3 separate regions of the Homo sapiens genome follow, and regions 1 and 2 are each linked to region 3. Evidence: promoter capture Hi-C in 16 types of primary human blood cells and fetal thymus (Javierre and others, 2016). All regions are on one chromosome and are shown on one strand. Each heading gives the region's core, a stretch centred on a gene start or on the middle of the fragment in contact. The rest is flanking DNA. Distances are from core to core; before and after follow the strand shown. Region 1 has its middle 61 kb from the start of EMP1. Region 2 has its middle 9.6 kb from the start of EMP1. Region 3 holds the start of GPRC5D-AS1 (GPRC5D and HEBP1 antisense RNA 1).

What was found. The method cuts DNA at HindIII sites, captures the fragments that hold promoters and counts their contacts. A CHiCAGO score of 5 or more calls a contact.
Region 1: a fragment that was not itself captured here is called in contact with the fragment with the promoter of GPRC5D-AS1 in region 3 in 2 of 17 cell types (M1 macrophages and monocytes); the score reaches 5.5 in M1 macrophages.
Region 2: a fragment that was not itself captured here is called in contact with the fragment with the promoter of GPRC5D-AS1 in region 3 in 1 of 17 cell types (monocytes); the score reaches 6.3 in monocytes.

The regions. Positions count from the first base shown.
Region 1 is chr12:13,255,844-13,259,930 of GRCh38, reverse strand. No RefSeq gene overlaps it. Among named protein-coding and RNA genes, the nearest start is that of EMP1, 61 kb to the right of the region's middle. RefSeq lists enhancers at 2,296-3,162, 3,882-4,087. The HindIII fragment of the contact is 2,446 bases long and covers 260-2,705 here.
Region 2 is chr12:13,185,053-13,189,164 of GRCh38, reverse strand. No RefSeq gene overlaps it. Among named protein-coding and RNA genes, the nearest start is that of EMP1, 9.6 kb to the left of the region's middle. RefSeq lists an enhancer at 4,102-4,112. The HindIII fragment of the contact is 6,638 bases long and covers 1-4,112 here.
Region 3 is chr12:12,925,976-12,930,342 of GRCh38, reverse strand. GPRC5D-AS1 (GPRC5D and HEBP1 antisense RNA 1) reads right to left here and starts at 2,617. Exons shown (of 3, transcript NR_149067.1): 1 at 2,540-2,617. The HindIII fragment of the contact is 5,226 bases long and covers 1-4,367 here.

The DNA of each region.
Region 1 (4,087 bases), core at 233-2,732, 330 kb before region 3:
ACAAAAGAAGTGAAAATGGCCTGTTCTTACCTTAACTGATGACATTGTCTTGTGAAATTCCTTCTCCTGGCTCATCCTGCCTCAAAAGTTCCCCTACTGAGCACCTTGTGACCCCCACTCCTGCCCACCAAAGAACAACCCCCCTCCTTCCTTTACCTACCCAAATCCTATAAAACCCCATCTCCCTTCGCTGACTCTCTTTTTGGACTCAGCCCGCCTGCACCCAGGTGATTAAAAGCTTTATTGCTCACACAAAGCTTGTTTGGTGGTCTCTTCACACGGACGCGCATGAAAGTAATGTATTCCAGTTCTGGCTTATATACTAAATAGATAGCAAGTTGCACACTAAAATAACTAAATAAAAGAATTTTGGTGTCTTTCCCCCCAGCACGATCAGAATGCTCAGCCTCCCAAGAAACTTGCCAGGTGTGACTGTTTATTCACATAACTCACCCCAGGGCATAATTGTAGAGCAGAGCAATGATGAATGACTAGGAGAGAACAAATAGAATATAATAATAATTCTACCCTGGATTTAAATAATGCTTTTTCCTTCCCAGAGCGCTAAGTGCTTTCACATAGATTAGAAGGTAAGGGTGGATATTATTATCCCCGTTTGTAGATAAGGACATAGAGTCAGAGAGGTAAGCTGTTTGTCCAAAGACTTACAATAAAAGCCTATTAGAGGTGAATGATCACCTTTGACACTATGTATGCAACCCTCTCATTTTTCAGATGAAGAAGCTCAAGTCGGGATGGTGATGTGGCTTTCCCAAGACCGCATCATTAGCGGCCAAATAATAACATACCTAGCCCTTCCTGGAGTGGAAGACAAACCCCAAAGGCCCTGACAACTTGGGATATAAGCCGTTCCCATCTGCGAGTCCTGCTTTTCCAGGAACACAGCACCACTACTGAGACTTCCCACCCTGCGATTCAAAAGTCTTGCCTCCTCAGGACCAGCAAAGTCATGGCCAGAGATAACATCTGCTTATAGAATCCCAGGGAGTTTTATTGACTTCACAAGAAAGATAAGCAGCACAATGGCTCACACACTCACAGGAGAGTAAACTTTCTCACAATTCATAGAAATCCCCTCTCTATATTATAACAGTGCTCAAATTTCCTGCCCAACTCCCCCTCCTCATCTTCATCATAGTTGCCCACATCCCATAATAGTAAGAGGGGGTTTTACCAAGAGTATGGAAATAGCATTTGTGGGTGCTTGCCCTCAAGAATTCTCTCCCCTGAGGGTGTCACCCTCTTTCCTCGGCTTTGATATACGGTGATATGCAGCCCCAGGCAACCGGCCCCAGCAGGCTCTGGGACTCCCCATTTGGTTTGGCTCCAAGGGCATGTCTGGTGAGGTACCACGCAGCAGTGGTCAGGGCACTGCTCCTGGGCTCTTGGGCTGTAAGGCCAGAGCAACAGCTTTCAGAGGTGAGAAAGTCATAGGCCAAGGAAGAACAGGCGATGTGCTACAAGAGGAAGGAGGGAGGCTGTGGCGCCTTCTCTCTGGGCAGCTGCTGTCTGAACAGCAGACAGGGGTTTAAACATAGGCTATAGCCACACAGAGCCCATCCCTCCCCCTGCCTCTCATTCTCCTGGCCAGGCAGTCTTGGCTTCACTCTCTTTCTTAATCTCCCCCAGCTGCAGACTGCCTCTTCCTGCCCTGGAGCAACTGCCTCCATCTCTGGCAAGCCCCTACCATCAAGAAAGGTGGGAAACACTTGCCCTCCCTGTCCCCAGCCCCTTGCCCAGTCACCCTCACTTACAACCCCTTTATTTAGCCAAAACCCATTTCCCCTGCTTATAAGAAAAGGGAGGGGTGTTTCTGAGATTACACACCAGGCCCTTCCTCTCAGATATAAATGTTCTTCCCAAGATCCCAAATCTTTACATCAAGAATAGATCCAGCTTAGCAGAAATGGGGACGATAAAGGATTTCAGTTCTAAATCACAGTATGTTCTAAGACACAAGGGCATGCATGACATCACCAATAATTCAGATATTAGATAAATATTTGCCAGACAAGAGCCACTGTCCTGAGGAACAAAGGGGAAGAGGAATGATATGAGGCATGGAGTTTGTCACTGAATTTATTTCCCTCTTTCACTGGTGCTCAGTTCAGCCCACCCCAGTTGTATACCTATGTTCCCCCTTAAGCCCCCTCAATAGGCTGTTTTTCACACCTCCGAAGATATTCGGCTTTATGGGGTGCCCTTGAGGCTTTGAGGTTCAGTGACAGCTGCAACTGTTGTGCCCAGATCTCCCCCTCATATCCTGGTCCTCAGCTCTGGGTTTCTTAGGAAATTCACTTCCAGGCAGGGAGTTCCCCAGACCTCTGCTTTTCCTTCCTCTCCCTCCTGCGTCCACACTGAGGCTATTTCACTGCTTATCAGCACTTCAGATGGGGGATATGAAGGAGTCAGTGTGAAAATCTGATTAGTCATTTTGGCTATTTTTTCTGGAAGCTGTAGTAAAAGATGGGTTGCAAAAGAAAGAAAAGCTATTAGCTATTGAAATCTGTGTGTTTCAATTAACCTTATCCCTCACAGATAATTGAGAATTGACAATAATGTTAGTTTCTTTGCAACCTTCTTTAAAAAATTTTTTTTTCATTTCTGATACCATCTTCACGTGGCGTTGACCAAGGCCCATAAACAATTTGTGCCTTCTTGGTCAGCACCAAGAGCTCAAAGCTTGGCAAGTGAGCCCACGACGGAAGAACTCAAAGGCCTCAGGGGCCCCGGGGCAGTGAAGGTCACCTTCTCCTCCCTCCACTGTGTTCTCTTTGTGCCCAAGTGTGCCAACATGGGTGCCAGGTTATTCCAGCCTGCCAGTTCCCACTCCTCCTGCCCAGGTTCATGCTGCGCCCCCTCCACCAGCTCAGACTGGCCTCTCTTGCCTCTGAGCACACCTTACCCTCCACAGCTCTTAACTGCTTTCTTCCTTCTGGGTCCCTGCCTGATACCTGATGCGTTTCCAAAACCCAGATCCCCAAGGTTTATCTCAAGTCCAGGAGCACCTCAAAGACCTCATGGCAAAGCCAGGTAGAATTGCTCAGCACCCTCCACCACAACCTCACCCAGTCCTCTGGGTGAATAATATGGGCACGCCTGGTTGCTCCCAGAGCCTAAATAGGCACGGAAGGCAAGGAGGGCGGCAGCCATGTGTCCTGGGACCAGGCCCACTTGGCTTCCAACAACTGCTTAGCTCTGTCCACAAGTTAAGTCAGCCTCAGTTTCCTCTTCAGTAAAATTTTGAGACTGAAAATAGAATCTACTTCCTAGATTTATTTTGAAACCTAAATGAGTTGATGAAGGTAAAGTACTTGGCACAGGGCCAGGCAGGAAATCAGTTCTGGGTGTGCAATGATGACCACCACCGTTAGCAACGTCCCCACAGTCCCAGGCAGCCTGGGCCAGCTCTAGGAGGGCCTCTGGTGCTACACTCCGCTGGAAGAGCCCCAAGGCTGAGAGGCTTCTACCTAGGTGCTTTTTTGGGATTTTTAGTAAAACATCGCTTACAGTTTTTATACAGATTCCCCTCTCTCCCCTGCAAGATGCAGAGCTGTGTTCCAGGGGGTCATGAGCCACTTCCTGGCTATTCGCACAATGAGCACTCAGTGATCCAGGCCCCAGCTGCTCCTGGTCTAGCTCGGTAGCAGCTCCATCTTCCCATGGGATGAATTCCTCCCTGGAGGATCCTCCATTCTTATGCAAATAGCTACTGGGAGCTCTGGCTCCTCGAGTTTTTTGACGTTCCCAAACAAGTCTGAATGCACTTAAGACAGAAAGCGGGTGTCTCCTCCCACCTTAATTACAATTAGAATGAAATTATGTTCACTTCAAAATTAACATTTCACACTTTTGCAACCATCAGAACTCCGACCACTGCCACCGTTCGGGTCCTCCCTCCCCTTCTCCTCCCTGCCGCCTCCTCTCCCTTTGTCCCGTGACTCAGCTCCCTGCTTCCCTGCCCTGACTTCCCCTACCCTTCCAGGTTTTGCAGGCAGCGCCATCTGCTGGACGCAGGCTCAGCTGCACCTTCCTCCTCCCGGCGAGGCAAGGGGGTGCCAGGAGC
Region 2 (4,112 bases), core at 1,331-3,830, 260 kb before region 3:
GCTCACTGGGTAATGGCTGTTGGACTGTCCTTGGCCACAGAGGGACAACCCTTGGAGTAGCCCCAAAGATCCAGGTCCAGATTAATGTAGGCTTTAGGAGGGAAGCCTGCTAAAAGTAAAAATAATAATCACAACAGCAGCAAAAAACAACTTCTACTTGCATAGCATCTTATGCACACACACTGCTCCTATTCCAACCTTTTAAAAAAATCTTACTGGGCAGGTAAAATCAAGGCTCAGGGAAGCCTACTTGCTTGATCGAAGCCACAGATCTATTAAAGAACAGCATCTAAGTTTCTTAGAGTTTTTAACTCTTTGTTTGCTGTTAACTTTTCTCTTTCCTTTACAATGCTTGCCTTTTCGTGGCTCCTGGAAGCTATGAAGTGTCTGCCATAGATCAAGGATGGTACAAATAGATGAAGAAATTGCAGATATGAGGATTGGTTTTTTTTTTAACTACTGCTGTTGGTAGCAATCCGAGCCAGAGCTTCCTAGACCTTCACAGAGCAGCTTATGACTCCGAGAGGTCTCTGCACCCCTGTTGTTTGAGCAGGGCACTCACCCAGCCCAAATGACCCCTGCAATGGCCTCTTGGCTCCTCATCCCCAGGTTATCTTTGCATCCCAGGTGACCTGGTGAAAACCAACCTCCCCAGAAAAGTTTTCTTGAGTATCCTGCTCTGCCAAATCCATACCAGTGTACCAGCTCAAGCCTGAGTTCCAGGCCCCTTTTGGGTCTATCTGAACACTTTCCCGTAGGAAGGACTTTTAGCTGAGGACAGAGAACAAAAGACCACAAGGGCTTTATGACAGAAGGTGTGCATCTGGTGAGTAGATCCATGGGAAGGATAAAGGGTCTGGTTTAAGGATACAGTTAAATTATCTTATCAGAAGAACATAAATTGTTTTCAGAGTATATAGAGGAACGGTGATATTTAGAACTTGGGCAAAGTATTTAAGGTTTTGTTTGGTACAGTGGAGATTTCAACAGCCAAGGTAAAGAGCTGCCATGCTGCAGACAATTCATATTAGGGGAACAGAATGGACAGCCTCAGATGATGGGGAACACAGCCTCACTTGAGAGGGGACTGGTGGGAACATTCTTCTGGCTGGGAGGGGGCCACACATCTGTGCACATCCCAAAAGAGCAACACAGAAATAAACATGAACAAATCATTTAGGCTGCAGGAAAGCAAGGCTGCATGAGGGTAAGAGCCCTTCTTTGTTCACGAATGCAACCCAAACACCTAGAACAGTGCCTGGCACATGATGGGTGCCCAACAAATGTGTGTTCAATGAATGAAGCAAAACCTTGCCCAGGTTTGAATAAAGAATGTGTGGCACTCTCAGACAGGAGGTGGAGTGATGAACTGCACAGGGTGTCTTCCTCCTAATTAATCCACCATATGATAATCATAATACCTGAAAGAAAGCAGATCATTCTCCACAACAGCAATGAGTAATCTAAACAAACAAGCCCAGGTTCACCTTGCAAATATTGCAACACCTAAGATGGATGACAAGTGGGCAGGGACCCAGGAAAGAAATGGACGTTGACAGTAACGCCAGCATCTGCTACACTCTCAGCAGTATACACATGTATGCCAAGTATCTTAAAAGAGGATACGGGGAATGCATGACCTCAAGAAAGGAATGTGTCATATGAGTGAGCAAGCTGTCTGGACTCTTAACGTGTCATGAAACTAAAAGCATCACAGAGCAGTGGTATCAGATCACAGAACAACCTGGGCTGTAGCTAAAACCCAACTCAACAAATCCAAAATCCAATGTGTGCCCCTCTCTCTCACACCTGCACTTCTCCTGCATCAGCAGAGCCTTCCCTAACACCCTGCTGCTTCAGACTAGGGTGGGTGCTCTTCCTACATGCCCCCAAATCTCTCAACAGACCTTATCTTTCAACAGACCTTCTCAGTAGATTCAGAGCTTCTTCACAGCAAGGTATCGTGTCTTATTCCTTGTGGTAGCTCTGCTCCTCAGGCCATATCTTGGATATAGTAGGTACTCAATAAATAATTGTCCAAAAATTAAATGAATGAATGGCTCCATCATCTACCAGGTCAACCTTTACTCCTCCCTCTCCCACTCTCCACATTCAAAGTCAACTAATATTATTTAATCTACTTAAAATCTATCTCAGGCCTGACCCCTCCACTTCCTCCCTATGCTGTGGCCTATGCTCCAGTCTTCTTCCTCTGTCTAGACTGTTACAATGGGCTCCTGACACTGAGCCCCTTGCCTCTGAGCTCTCTCTATTCCAATCCATCCTCCATGTCAGCAGTAGCAAACTTGCAGCCCACACACATAGTTTGTTTGGTCCTGAAAGTGTTCTAAAAAAGGAATCTGAATTAGTCTCCTATATTTTAAAATCAGGACATTTCAAATAAAATTTTGCTTTGCCAAACATCCCCTCCTTCTCGCTTGGCCTGCTTGCCTCATTTGCCTTATGGGCCTGGCCCCCTGTAGGCACTGAGTTTGTGGCACCAGAGTATCTAGATGAAACACAGACCCAATCAGATCGGATCACATGACTGCTATCTAACTTTGCTGGGAAGATAAACTCACGCAAGGCCCATGGCACACTGGCCCCACCCCCCTTTCAGGCCTATGCCCTCCTCCCTCCTTGCATCCACCCTGCACCTTGAGTGAGCTAGGCACCTTTACACCTCTGAGGTGTTGCTCAAGCTCTGTTCTCTAGCTTGAGTGCTTGCCCTGTGCTGCGGTGGTTGAGAGAATGAGCTGGAATCGGACTGCCTAGGTGCAAATCCTCCCTAAGCCTTCATTTCCTCATCTATAAAATGGGCCTAATACCAGTTGATGCCTTATAGAGTTATTGAAAGTAGCAAATGAATAATATCTCTGAAGTTCTTAACACAGGGCCTGGCACATAGCAAAGACTTAACCAGTGATCCTGTTGATGTTGTTGTCTCTGCCCTTCTTTCCCTAAAGAAATGCTGTTCTACCTCCACAGCCAGTCTCAATGTCACCTCCTCTGTGGGGCCATCTCTTCCTTCCACCTCGCCCTAGGCACAATGAGTAACCCCACCCCAGGAGCTGGCTTGTTCTGGCCACACCTCTGGGATGCCACTTACCACCCTGTCGCACCTTCAGCTCCCCTGTGTCCATCCTTCTGTGCACCACTTGCTCCCTAAGGGCTGAGCTGGGCATCTTTGAACTCCCAGTACCTGGACACCTTAGGTACTGCGTGTTTCTTGAATGAGTTGCATTGGATGCCAAGGCAGAAACATTCGGAGAGTTAAATGGCATTTTCCCTCAGTTTTATGCACCAAAGAATGTTCATGTGATACCATTTGCCACCTGAGTGTAGTCAGTGAGAGACAAAAGGCAAAGGATAAATTCATAGCACAGGCTATGCCATTTAATCACATGACGTCTGCTTCTCTGCCTCAGTTTCCTCATCAATCATCTGGAGAAAACAATGTCTTTCCAAGCTCAGTGGAACATAGGAGGACCCAGCAAGGGCAACATAGATGAAAACATTTTACAAATTACAAAACCTCCATTTCAGCACCTGGTGCAATCTTTGACCTTTATTTAATTAGGAAAATTTGAAGATATAAAAATGAATTTCTTAAAGGACCTGGATTGCTAACATACAGCTAAAAAGTGTGGAGGGTGAAAAAGGGAGGAATTCACCCCCTTCAAAACAAATACAAAAACCCACCATGGGACTTCACTGAGAATGCTATGCTTGGTTGGAATCCCAGCTTTGTCACTTTGAAGGACTCTGGGCAAATTCTTTTCTGTTTGTAATTTTTGTAGATTTAGGGAGCACAAATGCAGTTTATTACATGGATGTATTTCACAGCAGTGAAGCTGGGCATTTAGTGAGACCATCACCCAAACAGTGCATATTGTGCCCATTGAGTAATTCCTCATCCCTCATTGCCTTCCCACCCTCCGCCTTCTGAGTCTCCAGTGTCCATTATTCCACTCTCCATGTCCAATTCTGGCCATATTCTTGAACTTTCTGAGCCTCAACTTCTTTATCTGTAAAGTGAAGATAATGAAATCTATCCCAGGAAGTTGATAGGAAGACGAAATGACATGACATATGTAAAGACCTTGAAGAAT
Region 3 (4,367 bases), core at 1,368-3,867:
TCAAGCTCTGTCTTACACGAGGTTGATGGGGGGTAGAAATTCCCTGAGCAGATGATGTTGGGAATGGTACTCAGAACAGCCACACACAGGGAGACTGTGTGTGAGTTAGAAACATGTGCCCCCTCTGAGTGGATGAATTTGAAAATGTGCCCCCACCCCAAAGGATGTGACCTCAGGCCAGCATCCAGGGCTTGGCCAGCAGTGAGACTGGATTCCAACCCCACCCCAACCATCTCAGCTGGGTGCCTTTGAGCAGTACAAAAAACCCAAACTAGTCAACTGACAGCATTGGACCAGGTATGCAGGTCAGAAAAGTCTGTCTGAAGGTGAGGCTGCAAGGAAAACCAAGGCTCATTCAGCCAGCTGCAAGCCCTCCTTATGCTGGAGCAGAGATAGACAAAGAGAGAAGCAACGGGAGAGGTTGGCTCTGCCCCCACAGGGCTTCCATCCCGAAAGGAGGAATCTAGACATGGTCTGTGTGTGAAGAGCACTGGAAGGAGAGGCCTGATCATCAGTGAGCACTGCTGTGCTAGGCCCTCTTGGAGCCCGAGACAGAAGGAAACGTGTGTGTCCCTATATGCGCTTATCAAAATATCTTCCCATGCTTTGAACCAAGTGGAAAAACGTCATTTAAAAGTCTCCAATCAAAAAATTAAGCCTCAGCCGGGCACGATGGCTCACGCCTATAATCCCAGCACTTTGGGAGGCGGAGGCAGGTGGATCACTTGAGGTCAGAAGTTTGAGACCAGCTGGGTCAATGTGGTGAAACCCCATCTCTACTAAAAATACAAAAAAATTAGTCAGGTGTGGTGGCATACACCTGTAATCCCAGATACTAGGGAGGCTGAGGCAGGAGAATCGCTTAAACCTGGGAGGCAGAGGTTGCAGTGAGCCAAGATCGCACCATTGCATTCAAGCCTGGGCAACAGAGCAAGACTCCATCTAAAAAAAATAAAAATAAGAAATTATATATATATATATATATATATATATATATAAAGCCTCCTTCCCCCCATCTCCCTTTCTTCTCTCTTTTAAAACAAAAATAAAAAGGCCAGGTACAGTGGTTCACACTTGTAATCCCAACACTTTTGGAGGCCAAGGCAGGATGATTTGAGCCCAGGAGTTCAAGACCAGCCTGGGCAACACAGCAAGACCCCCATCTCTACAAAAAAAAAAAAAAATCTAATAAAAATATCCAAGAGGCTGGGCATGGTGGCTCATGCCTGAAATCCCAGCACTTTAGGACGTTAAGACGGAAGGATTGCTTGAATCCAGGAGTTCGAGATCAGCCTGGGCAACATAGCAAGGCACCGTCTCTACTAAAAATCAAAAAAATTAGCTGGCCGTGGTGGCACGTACCTGTGAACCCAGCTACTCAGGCAGCTGAGGCAGGAGGATTGCTTGAGCCCAGGAGGTTAAGACTGCAGTGAGCTGTGATTGCACCGCTGCACTCCAGCCTGGCAACAAAGCAAGACCCTGTCTCAAATATTTTAATAAATTTTTTAGAAAGTACCCAAGAATGGTGGCACACACCCATAGTTCCAACTACTCGGGAGGCTGAGGTGGGAGAATTGATGGGGCTTGAGAGGTTGAGGCAACAGTGGGCCATGATGGTGCCACTGCACTTTAGCCTGGGCAACAGAGCAAGATGCTGTCTCAAAAAAAATTTTTTAAGCCCTCCCTTTCTTTCATCTTTCTTCCCTCTCAAAATACAAACAAACTATATATATGTGTGTGTGTGTGTGTGTATGTACATATATACATATATACATATATGTGTGTATATACACACATATACATATATGTATATATGTATATATTATATATACACATATATGTGTATATGTGTATATATGTATATATTATATATATACACATATATGTGTATATGTGTATATATGTATATATTATATATATACACATATGTGTATGTGTATATATGTATATATTATATATATACACATATATGTGTATGTGTATATATGTATATATTATATATATACACATATATGTGTATGTGTATATATGTATATATGTATATATATACACATGTATGTGTGTATATATGTATATATGTATATATATACACATGTATGTGTGTATATATGTATATATACACATATATGTGTATATATGTATATACACATATATGTGTATATATATATTGCCCAATTTGTTTGTACCCCATTGTCAACCCTCACAGATCCATGGCAGGGACACAGCAGCCACATAAGCCCAGGATCCAAAGCCTGATTGGAAACGGCTCCTCTCTTGCAGTAACGCAAGGTCGTAAAACAAACCAAACAGCCTGCTTTTATAAAATTTTGATATGTTGTTTATCATGGGCTTTTTGGTATTGATTTTGTTTTAAAAAATATTGTGGTAAGGCAGGAGTGACTGAGGCAAGTATTAGAGCAGGAATGAAAGTTTATTAAAAAGTTTTAGAGCAGGAATGAAAGGAAGTAAAGTACACTTGGAAGAGGCCAAGCGGGCGACTTGAGAGATCACCCACTGGACAGTCTGACCTTTGACTTACGGTTTTATACGCTGGCATGCTTCCGGAGTCTTGTGTTCCTTCTCCCCTGACTCTTCCCTTGGTGTAGGCTGTCCACACTTGCGCAGTGGCCTGCCAGCACCTGGGAGGGGAGCATGCGCAGTGTGTGGCCTGCCAGCACCTGGGAGGGGAGCATGCGCAGTGTGTGGCCTGCCAGCACCTGGGAGGGGAGCATGCGCAGTGTGTGGCCTGCCGGCACCTGGGAGGGGAGCATGCGCAGTGTGTGGCCTGCCAGCGCCTGGGAGGGGAGCATGCGCAGTGTGTTTGTACGCATGCAGGAGTTGTACACATGCTCACGTGAGGCGTTCTTCCCTTATCAGTCGAATGTCCCTAGAAGGTCATATACCAGTTAAACTCTGGCATTCTGCCTGTTAGTGCTCATGCTTGAGTACACTCGCCCAACTGCTAAGATCTTACCGGGAAGCTGCTTATCACCCGTTTCAGGTGTTTTCTATCTACTGGGAGCCTGTCTTTCCCTAGCACCGGCTGCGACCAATTATTATTTTAGAGCGACAGACTAACAGCCGCCTGACCATCACCTGATGGTCACCTGAGGTTCCTGCTATTGGAACAGACCCTCTCCTGCCCTGCTCATACCTGACAGCTACCTACTGTAACACACCTAGGCAGATAAAGATGAGATTGTGGAGTTCCAACAGAAGCAGACATTAGGGAATGAGCTGAAAGGTGGAGGTGGAAGTTGTTCAGGGAGATGAGATTGCGCGGGGTACGTAAGAAGAGAGCCTCAGTAGGCTTCGCGGTGGAGCAGGCTGTCCCATCTCCAGCGAAGCTCCCCCCATGCCTCTGTCTCCATATGGAGTTCCACTGTTAACCCTGGGCATCTCCAGCAAGATCCCTACGGGGAGAGGGAACGCATCTGAGTACTGTTTGCAGAACCACACACGACAGCTCTGAATGAATAAGCCAAGACAACACCCCGAGATTCTTCCTGCGGATTTGGGTTCCCAGGCCGGGAAGGAGCTGTTGGAGCCTGCATGGAAGATTAGTGGATCTGCAAAAAGACAATGTGGATGACTGGCCGACGCCTTGTCCCAACCCTGTCCAAGCAGAAGAATCGCCGGGATACTTGCTCTGGATACAAATTCTTGGACCCTGACTCAGACCAACTAAATCAGAACCTCTAGGAGGCCTCCAGACACTGCATTTTTAACAAATTCCCATGTGATTTTTAACGCAGTATAAGTTTAGGAAGCGCTGCTCTGTTGACAAGGAAAGGCTCTGGTCTGGTTTGTAGCAGACTGTCCAGGCTTTCCCAATTTGGTCCAAAAAGGCAGAAAGTGATTGGCTTGAGAGGGCAGAATCAATGGAAAAAGTTTATGAATTCCTGCCCCTGGGAACATTCGTCTTTCACTTTTCATCTTCTTCCCCACCCCCACCTCTTTGGGGTATAGTCTTCCCCATGCCCCAGTTCCACATCTGCTCTGACCTGGGGTTCCCACCCAGCCTCCATCCAGAACACGCTCACCCTGTTTTTGTAAGAGAAAACATTGTCAAAATCAGCTTATGCCTGAAAATTCAAGAAGATAAATTCCTCCTGAGCCCATTTGCTGGCATTCTCATCTGTTTCCAGTTTGGTGTATATCATCTGAAGGGTCCTTGTTCATCCATTTTGGTTCAAGTCAGTTTAGAAAAGAAATGCACTTTACACTGGGCACAGTGACTCACGCCTGTAATCCCAGCACTTTGGGAGGCTGAGGCGGGTGGATCACTTGAGGTCAGGAGTTTGAGACCAGCCTAGCCAACGTGGTGAAACCCCATCTCTACTAAAAATACAAAATTAGCCAGGCAT